Regions from separate parts of the Homo sapiens genome. Here regions 1, 2 and 4 are each linked to region 3. Evidence: promoter capture Hi-C in 16 types of primary human blood cells and fetal thymus (Javierre and others, 2016). All regions are on one chromosome and are shown on one strand. The core of a region is centred on a gene start or on the middle of the fragment in contact, and the rest is flanking DNA. Distances in the headings are between cores, read along the strand shown.

The links. Contacts are between HindIII fragments. The CHiCAGO score rates a contact against its expected background, and 5 or more counts as called.
Region 1: a fragment that was not itself captured here is called in contact with the fragment with the promoter of RPAP3 in region 3 in 2 of 17 cell types (naive CD4 T cells and naive CD8 T cells); the score reaches 6.0 in naive CD4 T cells.
Region 2: a contact is called between a fragment that was not itself captured here and the fragment with the promoter of RPAP3 in region 3, in 1 of 17 cell types (fetal thymus). The highest score is 6.9, in fetal thymus.
Region 4: a fragment that was not itself captured here is called in contact with the fragment with the promoter of RPAP3 in region 3 in 1 of 17 cell types (fetal thymus); the score reaches 12.9 in fetal thymus.

Annotation. Positions count from the first base shown.
Region 1 is chr12:47,216,294-47,219,692 of GRCh38, reverse strand. PCED1B (PC-esterase domain containing 1B) reads right to left here. Exons shown (of 4, transcript NM_138371.3): 3 at 3,004-3,399. PCED1B-AS1 (PCED1B antisense RNA 1) reads left to right here and starts at 3,250. Exons shown (of 3, transcript NR_026544.1): 1 at 3,250-3,309. The HindIII fragment of the contact is 3,475 bases long and covers 1-3,276 here.
Region 2 is chr12:48,106,758-48,110,376 of GRCh38, reverse strand. It overlaps a transcript of PFKM not described here. Among named protein-coding and RNA genes, the nearest start is that of SENP1, 2.5 kb to the right of the region's middle. RefSeq lists an enhancer at 3,552-3,619. The HindIII fragment of the contact is 618 bases long and covers 1,681-2,298 here.
Region 3 is chr12:47,703,868-47,707,594 of GRCh38, reverse strand. It overlaps RPAP3 (RNA polymerase II associated protein 3), which reads left to right and starts at 1,565. Exons shown (of 17, transcript NM_024604.3): 1 at 1,565-1,643. It overlaps RPAP3-DT (RPAP3 divergent transcript), which reads right to left and starts at 1,507. Exons shown (of 4, transcript NR_183480.1): 1 at 1,432-1,507. RefSeq lists enhancers at 1,254-1,403, 1,335-1,629, 1,350-1,849, 1,850-2,351 and silencers at 1,544-1,623, 1,694-1,983, 2,014-2,103. The HindIII fragment of the contact is 881 bases long and covers 1,384-2,264 here.
Region 4 is chr12:48,199,082-48,202,670 of GRCh38, reverse strand. All of the region lies in intron 1 of LOC102725258 (a long non-coding RNA gene), which reads right to left. OR10AD1 (olfactory receptor family 10 subfamily AD member 1) reads left to right here. Exons shown (of 1, transcript NM_001004134.1): 1 at 1-332. The coding sequence ends at 332. Among named protein-coding and RNA genes, the nearest start is that of OR10AD1, 2.4 kb to the left of the region's middle. The HindIII fragment of the contact is 1,307 bases long and covers 1,472-2,778 here.

The DNA.
Region 1 (3,399 bases), core at 290-2,789, 490 kb after region 3:
AAAACAAAGCAGGTGTGAAATAACTTAGTTCGATTTTCATCACTCTGTTAGCTAGTCTTCTTAAAAGCCGATGGAAAACCCAGTGCTGCACTAAAGCTATATTTGTGTTTCAAATGTTTAGGCTTATGCTGACTACTCTAGATTCCAACCAGTGGCTGAATTAAAAGTTCCCATGGATGAAAAACAAGGGCGATTGGAGAGCTAATAATGACGAGTGCTTTCAACTGATGAACAGGTTGGATTGTGACAATTCTGCTCCAGGACTAGCTACAAAAGTCCATTTACTCAGTAACAGGAATCTAGGGTTGAGTCAGCAGGCCTGGATTTCTTCCACCTCTAATGCTTACTTTATCTTTGTGCTACTTAGTTTTTTACTTCTTAAATGGGGGAAATAGCACCTATGCTCCTCTGAAGGGATTACCCAAAAGAGTTTTAAAAATGGACATTATTTTATTATTGTTGCTATCATTATTGTTACCATTTTTGTAGTATTTAAATTCTATGTGTAATAGTGTTTCTATGGAAAAAGAAACTTTTTTATTTTTGTTTTTTGAGATAGAGTCTCACTCTGTTGCCCAGGCTGGAGTGCAGTGGTGCAATCTTGGCTCGCTACATCCCCTGTCTCATGGGCTAAAGTGATTCTCCTGCCTCAGTCTCCGGAATAGCTGGGATCACAGGCATTTGCCACCATGCCCAGATAATTGTTCTATTTTTAGTAGAGGCGGAGTTTCACCGTGTTGGCCAGGCTGGTCTCGAACTCCTGACCTCAGGTGATCCACCCACCTAGGCCTCCCAAAGTGCTGGGATTACAGGCCTGAGTCACCTTTTTCCACAGGCGGCCGATCTATGGAAAACATTTTTTGAATTTAAAAATGAGAGCAAGTCTCAGCCAGGTAGAGTGGCTCACACCTGAAATCCCAACACTTTGGGAGGCCAAGGAGGGACGATTGCTTGAGACCAGGAGTTCAAGCCCACCCTGGGCAATAAAGCTACACCTCTGTCTCTAAAAAAAAAAAAAAAAAAGAAAAAAAATTAAAAATGATCAGGATGTGGTGGCGCATGTCTGTAGTCCCAGCTACTCAGGAGGAGGCTGAGGTGGAAGGATACCTTGCACCCAGGAGTTTGTGGCTGCAGTGAGTCGTGATGGCACCACTGCGCTCCAGCCTGGATGACAGAGCAAGACACTGTCTCTGCCTTGGCTTTTACTCACACTATGTTGTAGAGGATTCTGGAAACTTGAGTTCCCACTGCTTTGCCTGTTGGCAGTGCAACTGAGGACTTGCCAGTTTCAAGCTCTACGGCTTGGAGCGGAAGAAAGGACAAGCAAGGTCCAGGGACTAAGGAAGCTGAGGAACAAGAATCTTGTGCTGGTGAAATGAATGTCATACTGCCTATGCACACCGACTAACTTCTCACATTAGGCCTTTCCCCAGGCCATGGTTTTCCCCACTTCAGTGCCAACAACGGACCTAGGGGTTTTTCTCCCTGCTGCCGTGTCCAGCCGAGCTCTCGCTTCTCTCTTCTCCTCCAGCTCCAAAAATAAGTCAACAGCTCTGCACTGCCTACCTTAGAGTTAATTGTGGAAATCAAATGAAATGCTGTGTAAACTCTACAGATGTTCGCTGCTATTGTTATTCTGAGCCACCTTAGCATATCTGGAAAGTGGGCTTAGTGGTTAAGGGAGATTTCCAGTTAAATGAAGCATTTAACTTATTATTTAGCAACATTAATTATTTAGTGGCATTATTTAGCATACCCTCCAAAAAGTATTTACATGTTTTACCAGTTTATCTCTTTATTCTTCTTAAGAACTCTAAGAAGGGCGCGGTAGCTCATGCCTGTAATCCCAACACTTTGGGAGGCCAAGACGGTCGGATCACCTGAGGTCTGGAGTTCAAGATCAGCCTGGCCAACATGGTGAAACCCTGTCTCTAGTAAAAATATAAAAATTAGCTGGGAGTGGTGTCGCGTGCCTGTAATCCCAGCTACTTGGGAGGCTGAGGCACAAGAATTGCTTGAACTTGGGAGGCGGAGGTTGCGGTGAGCAGAGATAGCACCACTGCACTCCAGCCTGAGCAGCAGAGTGAGACTCCATCACAAAAAAACAAAAACAAAAACAACCTAAGAAATTATTTTCTTTCTTTCTTTCCTTTTCTTTTCTCTCTTTCTCTTTCTTCTTTCTTTCTTTCTTTCTTTCTTTCTTTCTTTCTTTCTTTCTTTCTCTTTCTTTCTTTTTCTTTCTTTCTTTCTTTCTTTTTTTTTCTTCTTTCTCTGTCTCTCTCTCTCTCTCTGTTTCTTTCTTGTCTCACTCTGTTGCCCAAGTTGGAATTCAGTGGCGAAATCATGGCTCACTGCAGCAACTCTGCAGGCTCAATCAATCCTCCCACTTCAGCCTCCCTAGTAGCTGGGACTACAGGCCTGTGCCACCATGCCTGGCTAATTTTTATAGTTTTTTTTAGAGACAGGGTTTCATCATGTTGTCCAGGCTGGTCTTGAACTTAGACTCAAATAATCCACCTGCCTCAGCCTTCCAAAGTGCTTGGATTACGGGTGTGGGCCACCGCACCTGGACTACATATTCTAATTTTCTCCATTTTATACTTTTAAAAATTAAGGCTAAAAGATTGAGTAATCTGCCCAAGGTCATCCATTTTATAAGAAGTAGTGCTGGAAGTAAAACCTGATGCCAAGCCTTTGTGGTCAACCACAACATACAAGATTGCAGACAACAGATGCCTCACGTCCCTTCTCCAGTTCACAACTAAATTGGCTGTTTTCTTTCACTGTCCATTTTAATAAATTTACAAGTTTATCAATCACTAATATTTTTGTTATTGCCAAGCACCAGTTGTCTCTTTAGTGTTACATGGGGTGGGCTGAAGGAGGCTAGGGTGCTGATTCCTGTCTACAGTAAGTGCCCAAAAAATGATGGTCTCAAGAAAGGCTGGTCAGAAATGCCAACTTAAAGTTTCAGATAAAATGGAAAAACTGAAAAGTACTTACTCATTAAAGTAACTGGTGATTTTTAAGCATCTCTCTCAGTTGATTCTAGATCTCGTCCCTAGATAGCTTTCTTCCTCTCCTGTAGATCATTGTGACCAGACGGGAGATCTCAGAGCTTGGGCTATAGGGGAAATAGGTTAGCCTCTGGGTGCTGCTGTGCTTGCAAGCCAGCGTCTGGGGAGAAGATGACATTTCCGGTGGCATCTGGGGCAAACGACACAAGTCAGCATTTAGTTTCTTGCTTTAGGAAGCGGAAGACTAATGACCGAAGCTTCAAGACTTTGACATGTGTGAAAACATGAAATGGTAAGTCAATACAAAGACAGCATCTTCCTGGAATTTGGTTTTGAGCTTGTTTTCATTTCACCTTTCTCAGTAATCTGGGTGTAGCTTATT
Region 2 (3,619 bases), core at 740-3,239, 400 kb before region 3:
TATGATCCTATCATTCTTCAGTGATTTCCCAGAGCTCAAAAGTGTCCATAAGACCTAGAAGGCACTGCACAATCTGGCTCTTACACCACCTGTACAGTTCACTCTCCCGCTATTCCTCCCATCATCAAGTCACATTGGCCCATTCTGCTCTTTCCCGTTTCACAGCCTATTGTCCCCTTTTCTGGAAAGCTCTTCTCTCTTTGCCTGGCTAATGCATACTCATCCCTCAGGTCTTCCTGAGAAAGGTTTTTCTGACTTCTCAGGCCATATTACACCCCCTGTTTTATCCTCTGATTACATGGAGTTATTTTCCTTCATTGCACTAACACCATTCTAGTTATATAACCATGTGTGTGATTGTGTGATTACTGTCTTAGTCCCACAAGACTATAAACTTCATGAGAGCAGACAATGTACCTGTTTTGTTTACTACTTTATTCCCAGTGCCAAGTACAGTACTTGACATAGTATGTGCTCAACACATTCTCTTGGAAGGAAGTCAAAGAAGGAGGAAGAGTAGGAGGGAAGGAGGAAGGGAAGAGGAAAGGATGAGGAAGGAAGCAGGGAGGTAGGCAGAAGAGGAGGAATGGAGGCCTTATTGGTGCTGGGAAAATATTAGATTTCCTTTCTCTAGTAGGAAAGCTGAAAGGGTTAAGAGTGGCCACTTAACTGAGCCACACAGACCCCAGGATTTAAAGGCAGAAGTTGAACATCAGAATTTTGTCCATGAGACAATGCTGAGTTCAAACCACAGAAGCAGGTCCAAATGAGTCATCAGAGCAAAGGGAGTCTGAGGTGAGTTTTAGGTACACCAGAGCAAAAGGAGAATGAAAAAAGCAGGAAAGATGAGGGCAAATAAGAAATAATCTGTACAAATTCAATAAACAATAGGAAAAAACCATCAGCTGGGTTTATTTCTTGCTGCTTTCTATGCAGGGGCAAAGGAAGTCTGATTAAAGGGATGTAGACCACAAACAGTTGCAAAAGGAAGAAAAGAAAAAAGGAAAGAAAAGAAAAAGAAAGGAAGGAAGAAAGAAGGAAGGGAGGGAGGGAGGAAGGAAGGAAGGAAGGAAAAGAAAAGCTGGCTCTGAGCAGTCAGCTGGCTGTTCTCTTCCCTACATCTCTATGGCATCTTATTTTGAACCAAAGTTATTTTGAACCCTACATTTCTATGGCATCTTATTTTGAACCAATTCAACATTTTGAACCAAAATTATTAAGTTCTTAACTTACACATTGTTCCATATTATCTCCCGTCCTTAATCATAAGCTCCTAGGGAACAGGGAAAGTGTCTATTTCATTTTCTCATTTCCTACAGAGTCTAGCCCAATGATTTCAAATAGTGAGTGCTCAAAAATATGGCTAAATACTGATATATATTTCATAAGTGCTAGGAGTTGTTACTTTAATGAAATTATCAACTTTCTGAGGAAAACCTTTTAGTCCTGAGTTCCTTCTGAAAATATAAGAGAGTTGGGGTAAATAATCGCTAAGGCATTTCCAAAGTGTAAGCTATTGGGGCAATGGCAAGGATATGCCTTATACATATGTTTTATAATCTATCATTTCCAGTATATTATTGGGCAAATAGCGGGAACTCAATAAAGGTTTCCAGTGAATTGACTCCAATATAGATGTATTTAAGTTAAGACGAAATACATAGATGTGTTTCTGAAGCTTCATATAAATTGCCTGTGAATTGAACATTTAAAAATACATGAGAAATCTATTATTAAATGGTTTCCTAAGATGAAAATTTTTTACAATATTTAGAATCATTTTGTAAAATAATAACTCATTTAGTCAACTTTCTTAAGTTTCACATATTTATATATCAAGGATGCTGACAATAGGATAAACCAGATTAGTAGTTTACAGTTATGAGCCAATTGATTTAATATTGACCAAATTAAGTTATTCTGCATAGAGATGTGTCTGTTTCCCTACAATTTCCCAGATGATCCATCCCCACCTCTCTCCCTTCTTCCTTTCCCTCCCCATCCCTCTTTCTCTTTCTCTCTCTCTTTCTCTCTCTCTCTGTTTCACACACACACAGACTTTCCCCCTTGGGTCTTATATTTCAGCTTTAGTAGGTCTACGCTGATTTATAATACTATGCATACAACTTTCACTTTCCCATATTCCTTTGAACATTTCTCACTGTTGACCCACATGCCTCACCAGTTTTGAAAACAGGTATGCTTCCCACGGTGTCTGGATCATCCATAGTATCTAGACTCTTCAAGATGTCTGTCTTTGGTGGTGGCTTTGGTATGAGCATGCTGGAAGTAGAAGCTTCCCCAGCTGAGAAACAATAGCTTTAGGTCACCCTCAAGGTGGGATTCTGGGAAGGGAGTGTTCCTTACTCCCTTTCATTTTCCCTATGACTCTGAGCTGTCCAGGGCTTTCTTTCCAAAAATCCAGTGAAAAATTAGAGACGCGATGTACCTCAAAAAGATTCTATTCCCTTGACATACATGGGGGAAAGCAGAACATATAACTAGATACTTTGAGGTGGGGTGGATGAGAAGGCCATTTTTCCTTAGGGCTTGATTTATCTGATAGTTTTGGAGTGTCAGTTATAATGACAATAAAGATTCCCACAGATGAGCCCAGACTGGTCGAAGTAATTCACATAACAACACAATAATGACAAGCTCATGGGATAAATTTTGTTCCCCCCTCAACTCTCAAGTCCTCCTTATCTGCCTGGCATCTATCACAACAAACCAGGTCAAAATCTTACCTGGAAAATACACGACTCAGTGATCAATATTTTATCAAAGTGAGAATGTGATAAACAAGGTCAGTTGACCCCTAAAATCCGTATTTACACTAGAAAGCCTCACATCCTGTATTTAGACTTCTTGTGAGAGAACCCATTCTCTGTCACTGGAGTATGATCAGGAGACAAGGGTACCTGTTCTCTGAGGAGTCCTGACTAACTGGCGAGACTGAATCACACACATGAAAAATTTCAGATGAAACTCGTCTTTATGCATGGCTGCCTCCTAGAAATAGAGACAGAGTTTAATCCAAACGAACAGAGCTGTGAAATAAGATGTCAGTGACTGACATGGACCAGCTACACTCATGACTACTTGGCCTTAGGACTTGACAATATAATATAAAAGTATCAGCACATGAGGCAATACAAATAATCTACTTTGATGTATTTGACAGGGGAGGAAACCCTGAACTCAGCAAGCTGCTGAGAGTATCAGAAAGGCTGGGGGCCTCCAGAAACTGCCCTTCTTTAAGTCTGAGCTCAGACTGTGCCTGTGGCTGTGATCTGGGTGTAAAGGACCTATTAAGGGGGCATTTCTCTAAGACTTCTACAGGGCCTGGGTCCAGAGGCCTGCCAAGCTGAGGTGCTTGACAAAAAGCCTGAATGAACAAACATATTTCTTCCCATTATGTTCTCTTAGAAAGTATGGCAGATTCCAGGTTAATCAATGTGTCCCAGGAACAACAAAGCCCTTCAAAGGTCACAGGTGATTCCTGGGTCCTTCTCTATCTCTACCCAGAAAAGCAGATCTCTAGTGGGCTCCCAAAAGCTTTCCTCACAGCTCTGCCTGTTTCAAATTCCTCCAGAGTTCTGGAAGGTTCTACATCTTG
Region 3 (3,727 bases), core at 316-2,815:
TGAGCTCACAGGAGAGAAGGCTGCCATTGCAGGCACAGGTTTTGTGGGACAGCAGGAGCCTCAGAATTAGGTGATGATGACCATCAAAACCATTTGATTAACTTTTCTCACTTTGACTCTATATTCACTAAGCTACTTCTGATTATTGTATGGTTTGAGAGAGAAAAAGAGAGAGAAAAGCAGGGTCACCTAAGGGTCTATGAGGTTTTACTAGAGCAGCCAGCTAGCCCCCTTATCTCTCTTCTCAATCAACTCTGTCAGAATTAATAAAACAAATGTGGTTGCTTTTGTTAAAAACACCAGTAAATCAATATTTGCTTTTAAATACTTAATAAAAAAATTATTAAAAGTCAGTTCTCTATCTCCCTAATACAACCAAAGAATCATTTCATTAGTAAATATTTTGACGTACACTTAATGATTTGACTACTATGATTTTAAAATATAAAGATACCAATAATTAAGCAATGGGAAGGATGTGCTAATGATATGACCTTGTAAGACAGCACTCCAGCCTAGTTCTTCATTGATCAGCGCCTGGGTTAGTGGCTTCCAGCTTCAAATGCACAGCCGTATCCTATGCTTTAAAAAATTCTGATTGGCTTCACTCAAGACTAGTTACATCAGAATCTCTGGGATAGGACACAGAAATCAGTATACACACACACACACACACACACACACACACACACACACACACAGACACAAACACACACACACACACACGTGTATATGTATATACTCCCTAAGTGATTCCAAAGCTCAGTCAAGACTGAGAACCACCGATCTGGATTTTGAGGATATTTGAGGTTACAGTCCTGTTTTAAATGGAAAGTTTCATTTGTTTGTGTTTGCTTCTGTGGACTTCTGCAATTATTTTTGTTTTGCTTTCGTTTAAGAGTTGTCATTGCAACGAAGACTCCCTCACACGGGAAGCAGAAGCAAAAAGTGTTAAAAGTTTCGTTCTTTTTTCTCTGTAAGCCAGAGCATATCTAAAGACAGATTGTAACACTGGCACATGTCAAAGAAAGACTCAGAGATAGATTCACTTAGAAAAGGGGTTTACTTGCAAAAGATGCGAGGAGTTAGACGGAAGGACTAGTTTGCCAACCAGTACTTAAAGGGAAAAAAAAATCCCCTAAAATTACCAGGATTACCGGTTGACAGTAGTCTGTTCATGGTGGAAAAACAGTAACTTTCTCACATGGTTATTATACTCACAAAGGTCAGACAAATTAATGTCACAAAGGTCAGAGATTAGCAAGGTAAATATTAGGGATTAAACTGTTTAAGGGAGTCCAGGGAAATATTCAAGGTTTTATTGTTTTGGAGATCAGAAAATCAGGATGATCCTGCAGTTTTTGGGTTATCTCCTTTTAAGCTTAGTCATATTGGAAGCAGGCAGAAGGCTCAGATATTGCTTTTACATACCCTCAAGCCACCAAGCTGGTTCCATCCTGAGAAGGAAGTCACGAAGCTGACTTCTGCGCGCGCTCAAGCCCAGGCTAAAGGGGGCGGGGCGAGGCCGCGGGGGCTTGTGGGGAAGCGCAGGAGGCGGGGCTTTGCGTGAGTCACTGCCGGGCTCGGCGTGAGTCGCTGCGGGGCTGACGGGGTGGCAGTGCGGCGGGTTACGGCCTGGTCAGGTGAGCGGGCGTTGCGGTTCTCGCTGCCCGGAGCAGCGTAGGAGATCCTTGGGGTGGCCGGTGGGAGGAGGGGTAGCGGTTATGGGTACCGGTGAGGCGGGGCGGGCCGGGGCTGGCGGTGGAGGCGCGCGTTGAGGCGGCGCGTCGGTGTCCAGGGCAGCGGCGTCTCGGGTCGCGCGTTCCCGGAGGGGCTCGCCCCCGCAACCCGGGCCTGCGCGCTCTGCTTTGCAGGCGGACCCTCCACCCTGCTGCGATTTTGCAGTGCTCGGGAAGGCAGAGCCGCCCTCCCGCAAAGACCGAGGTGGGGCCCGCCCCCTTGCGGCGTGGGTGTGCGGTGTTCGCCGGGACAGCGGGTGTGAAAGTGATACCCCCAGCGCTGGAAGTTTTTGATTGCTGGCTCGCACCCCCGCCCCATCGCAGGGTCCCTGGGAGAGTTTTTGGGCCTGCTCGAGCAGCAGCGGTGATGGGTGAAATGGAAAAGCATCTAACCCCCGTCAGCATCTCACTGACTTGTTGCGCTTTTATTCATTTATTTGAGTTCCCAACAAAGCGTTGTACTAGTTTTGTTTTTGAATGAGTTGTGCATATATGGTCAAACATGGACACTGCCTGAAAGAAGCTTAAACCTAATTTAGTTGTTGAGGCTACGAGTCAGAAGACCTATCTGCATCTGCAACTGTCCCTTCTTAGTGAGGTATTTTTCACTGTCCTAAACAAATGTTTTTCTAATTCCGTCTCTCTCCCTCCCACCTTACTTCTCTTCCCTCCGCCTAAAGCTTTGACTCTTCTCCTACCTTTTTGGAGATTTTGCCCCATCACTCATCCTTTTTCCTGTATCTTTTACTTTGTTGCTTTTTCCCCAGACTATGCTCAAGAACAAGTCTTATATTATCAAAGGCAAATGTACTGTAATCTCCATATAATCTCATTTACGTAACTCATTTCATTCCCCCCCCTCCTTTTTTTTTGGTCCCAGGCTGGAGTGTAGTGGGCCCGTCACCGCCCACTGTGGCCTCGATCTCCCGATCCTCCCACCTCAGCCTCCTGAGTAGCTGGAACTATAGGCACCCTCCACCACGCCTGGCTAATTTTTGTGTTTTTAGTAGAGATGGGGATCTCGAAGTGTTGCCCAGGCTGATCTAGGAACTCCTGAGCCCAAGCTATTCCCCCTGCCCCCCAACCTCTGCCTCCCAAAGTGCCGGGATTACAGGCATGAGCCACCTGCGGTTGGCCTTCCACCCTTTAAAAAAAATCTTATTGAAACTCTAAATAGAGGTCAGGCGCGGTGGCTCATGCCTATAATCCCAGCACTTTGGGAGGCCGAGGTGGGCGGATCACTTGAGGTCAGGAGTTCGAGACCAGCCTGGCCAACGTGGTGAAACCCCGTCTCTACTAAAAAAAAAAAAAATACAAAAATTAGCCGGGCGTGGTGGCCTGCACCTGTAATCCCAGCTGCTCGGGAGGCTGAGGCAGGAGAATCACTTGAACCTAGGAGGTGGAGGTTGCAGTGAGCTGAGTTTGCGCCACTGCACTCCAGCCTGGGCGACAGAGCAAGACTCTGTCTCAAGAAAAAAAACAAAAACTCTGAATAGTCTTTTTATGACTAAATATAATGCACTTTCTTTCCCTCTGTGGCATTTGGCACTGCTAACCTCTCACTTTCTTCAACTCATTTTTTGTCATCTGTAACAGTACACTCTAGGTTTTTCTCCCAACTGTCTAGGTGCTACTGCCTACTTTTTTCTTCCTTGGCATCTCTTTCTCCGTTTAGTGTTCTCCAGGTTCACCCCATTCCCCAGTTGTCACAATGGTTAAACATGGCCACATCCTTGATTCTAGCTTCTACCTTTCTGCTAGTGACACCGGAATTTATCTCTATTCCTACATAGCTACCTATGGGGTATCTCTTCGCCCCATTAGCACTCAAATTCAGCATATCCCAAACAAATAATCTGACTTTCCGTTTGCCCTCCAACTTTGATGCCTCTTTTCCTTTTAACATTGTATTTCTTGACTCAAAATGGCATCAGTAATCTTACCGGGGTCCCAAGCCAGAAATCTAGGCCACTGTTTGAGTCTTTCTC
Region 4 (3,589 bases), core at 876-3,375, 490 kb before region 3:
TTCTCAGCCCCATGGTGCTCACTGTCACTTCCTATGTGCACATCCTGGCCACCATCCTCAGCAAAGCCTCCTCCTCAGGTCGGGGGAAGACTTTCTCTACTTGTGCCTCTCACCTGACTGTGGTCATCTTTCTCTACACTTCAGCTATGTTCTCTTACATGAACCCCCACAGCACACATGGGCCTGACAAAGACAAACCTTTCTCCCTCCTGTACACCATCATTACCCCCATGTGCAACCCCATCATTTATAGTTTCCGCAACAAGGAAATTAAGGAGGCCATGGTGAGGGCACTTGGAAGAACCAGGCTGGCCCAGCCACAGTCTGTCTAGCAGGAAGGCCCTGAAAGGAAAGCTCCTTCACCTGGGGAATGGGAGAGTTACCCCATCCCCAGCCCTGGCAGATGAGTAACTCTCCTATGCTGAAAGGCTCCAGGAAAGAGCGTTCATGGCTTCCTTGGCACTAGAATCAGACCTGAAAGTTCCTCCTGATGTCCAATGTCCTGATGTTATCTCTCTGACTTCACTTCCACATTGTTTTTTCTTGGACCTTCCTCGGGAGAATTTCGGATTTTCCTTAGTTTTTTTCCTCAGTTTCTTTTCCTCTTAAGTTCTCACAACAGGATTCAATAAATAAGTGCACTTAACTCCATTTTATTTGTATATACCTTTACATGCTAGTCCCCCAACCTGAGTTTCGTACATACATTTAGAAATAAACTCTTTTATTTTTCAGCTCTTCATTTTACTGTTTTTCTTTCTCAAATTCCACTCTCACTTCCTGGGTCTACCCTCATCTACCCAATTCCTGTGAAAAGTAGGTAAAGAAGCAAGAAAAAAAGGGCTGGGCGCAGTGGCTCATGACTGTAATCTCAGCACTTTGGGAGGCTGAGGATGGAGTTTGAGACCTGCCTGGGCAACATAGGGAGACCCATCTCTACAAAAAATTTAAAAAATGAACTGGGTGTGGTGGCACATGCCTGTAGTCCCAGCTACTGAGGAGGCTGAGGTGGGAGGATTGCTTGAGCCTGGGAGGTTAAGGCTGCACGAGCAATGATAGCACTGCTGCACTCCAGCCTGAGCAACGCAGCAAGACCTTGTCTCATTAAAAAAAAAAAAAATGAAGAAGAAGAAGGAAGGAAGGAAGGGAGGGAAGGAGGGAGGGAGGGAAGGGAAGGGAAGAAAGAGGGAACTAGGGGTAAGTACTCACATAAGAAAAGTCAGTTAAAGAAAAAAAAAAGATCAGCACCCTGAACTTCATCTTCTTAGCTTCCACCAGTCATGGGGGGAGAATGATACTAAATGTCAACAGTGCACTCAATTTGTCTGTGTTGTGTGTTGTCGGGGACGGATGGGTGATAGAGGCCAGTGTGCCAAACCCCTTCTCCTAAATCCTCTAGCTTCCTTTAGCAACAGGACCGTCTGCATGATATTTCCCTTCCCATGCAAGTGGCAAGTGCCTCTACCAAGCTTCTCAGGTTACCTATTTCCTTCCCTGTTATCCATACCCCAAATTAACTCCCCTCTCCCCCTACTGCCTTCCTTTTTCTCTTCCATCTTTCATTTCATTCCACCTCAATCCTACTCCACCTTACCTCCTCATCTTACATGGATCCCTGTATTTTAAGGAACCCTTCTGCATACTACCTCTACCATTGCAGAAGTCTTTCAATTTGTAACCCTGCCCTCTGTGGCTTCCTCTAGCTTCTCACCTTAACCAAACACAGCTTTCTTTGAGAAGGTACTACATCCTCAGCAGTTCTCTTTCTTTGAAAATTGCATTTTTCTCATACCCCTTCATAATAAAACAAGGGGGTAGGCCTGTTCTTTATTTCGCAGTGCACTTCCATAATATGAATGGACCTCATTTGGGATGCTCTCAAATAGATGTACTGCCCTTTCCACTCCTGCGCATCACACACTACCCTTTGCAATGATGACTTAAAACAGTAGCTTCTGGCAGCACGTGGTGGCTCACACCTGTGATTCCAGCACTGTGGGAGGCCAAGGTGGGCAGATTACTTGAGGCCAGGAGCTCAAGACCAGCTTGGTCAACATGGTGAAACCCCGTCTCTAATAAAAATACAAAAATTAGCTGGGCGTGGTAGCGCATGCTTGTAATTCTAGCTACTTGAGAGGCTGAGGCAGGAGGATCACTTGAACCCAGGAGGCAGAGGCTGCAGTGAGCCATAATTACACCACTGCACTCCAGCCTGGGTGACAGAGTGAGACTCTATCTCAGGCAAAACAAAACAAAACAAAACAAAACAAAAACAGTAGCTTCACTCCACAAAACTCCAATCTTTTGAGTCCAAATTGATTTCTCCAGAAATCAGAGGATGTGAGAAGCTCTTCTTAACAAGGAGAAAGGAGAAACCACTGTAATTGGGAAGAAACGATAAATGCAGAACCTAAAATTTCCATTGTCAAAATTTGCATCAAAGTTAAACAGGCAAGAAAGACCTTAAGACTATTGCAATACGAGATTAAACTCAACACTACTCAAACAAGGGTCTGGGAAGTTTTTAAGAGCTGCTGTACGGGAAATCACATGACATCTGTGTTTGCTAACTGCAAAGGAAAAGGACACTTTCTTGTATCTTCAAAACAAGCTGTAGTTTTACAATTCCAAACAAGGCACCCACAGGAGGTTAGGCTCCCACCCTCCCACAGAGACTGAGAGATAGGGGTGCTATCTTCCTTGATGATTACATTTCAAAGGGATGGCTCACAGGTCCTTGAGAAAGACATTCCCTAGGTCGTAAAACTGGCATAAGCTTCTAAGGAGATTTATACACATTTCAAAGGAGCAGAGAAGAATTTTGCAATCACAAGTTTTCTAAAGTAAACACTCAAAGAAAGGGGAGGTCAGGGCCCTAACATCCAGAAGAAACCTGTCTAAAGTTGTCAGGCTGAGGTGAATGTTAAGGCTCTTTTGGTCACCACTGAGAACAACAACAAAAAGGTCCCAATCTTTCCCCCTAGGGTCTCAGCTTCTTCTCTAGGTTTGAAAATTCCTATCTCAAAGAGGAAAAAGTGAAGGAAAGGAAGAAAGGGAAAGGAGAAGAAAGACTGCTTTTAAAAAGTTTTCTAAGAAATCATTTCTTAGCTTTACATTTGCCCAGCACTGACAGACGCTGAGATTATAAACAAGACAGTTCCAGCTTTTGAGAATCTCAGTCTAGTAGGGCAGGCAAGAACAAATAATGGTAATAGAAAGGGCAAGCGTTATAAAAGGCCTACACAAAGTACTTTGGAAGCACATATGATAACATACTTATTAAGCACTTATATTGTAAGAGCTTTCCATTTAATCGTCACATAACCTTATGAGGTACTAGTATTATCTCAATGTTGAGATGCAAAAACTGAGGCTCATAGAGGTCAAATACTCAAAATCCACAGCATTTACAATGGCATAGAGGCCTGCGCCTATAATCCCATACACTCAGGAGGCTGAGGCGGGAGGATTGCTTGACCCCAGCCTGCAGTAAGCTATGATCCCGCCACTGCACTCTAGCCTGGGCGACACAGCGAGATCCCATCTCTAAAAAAAAAAAATTAAACTAAAGAAAAATAATAGAACAGCA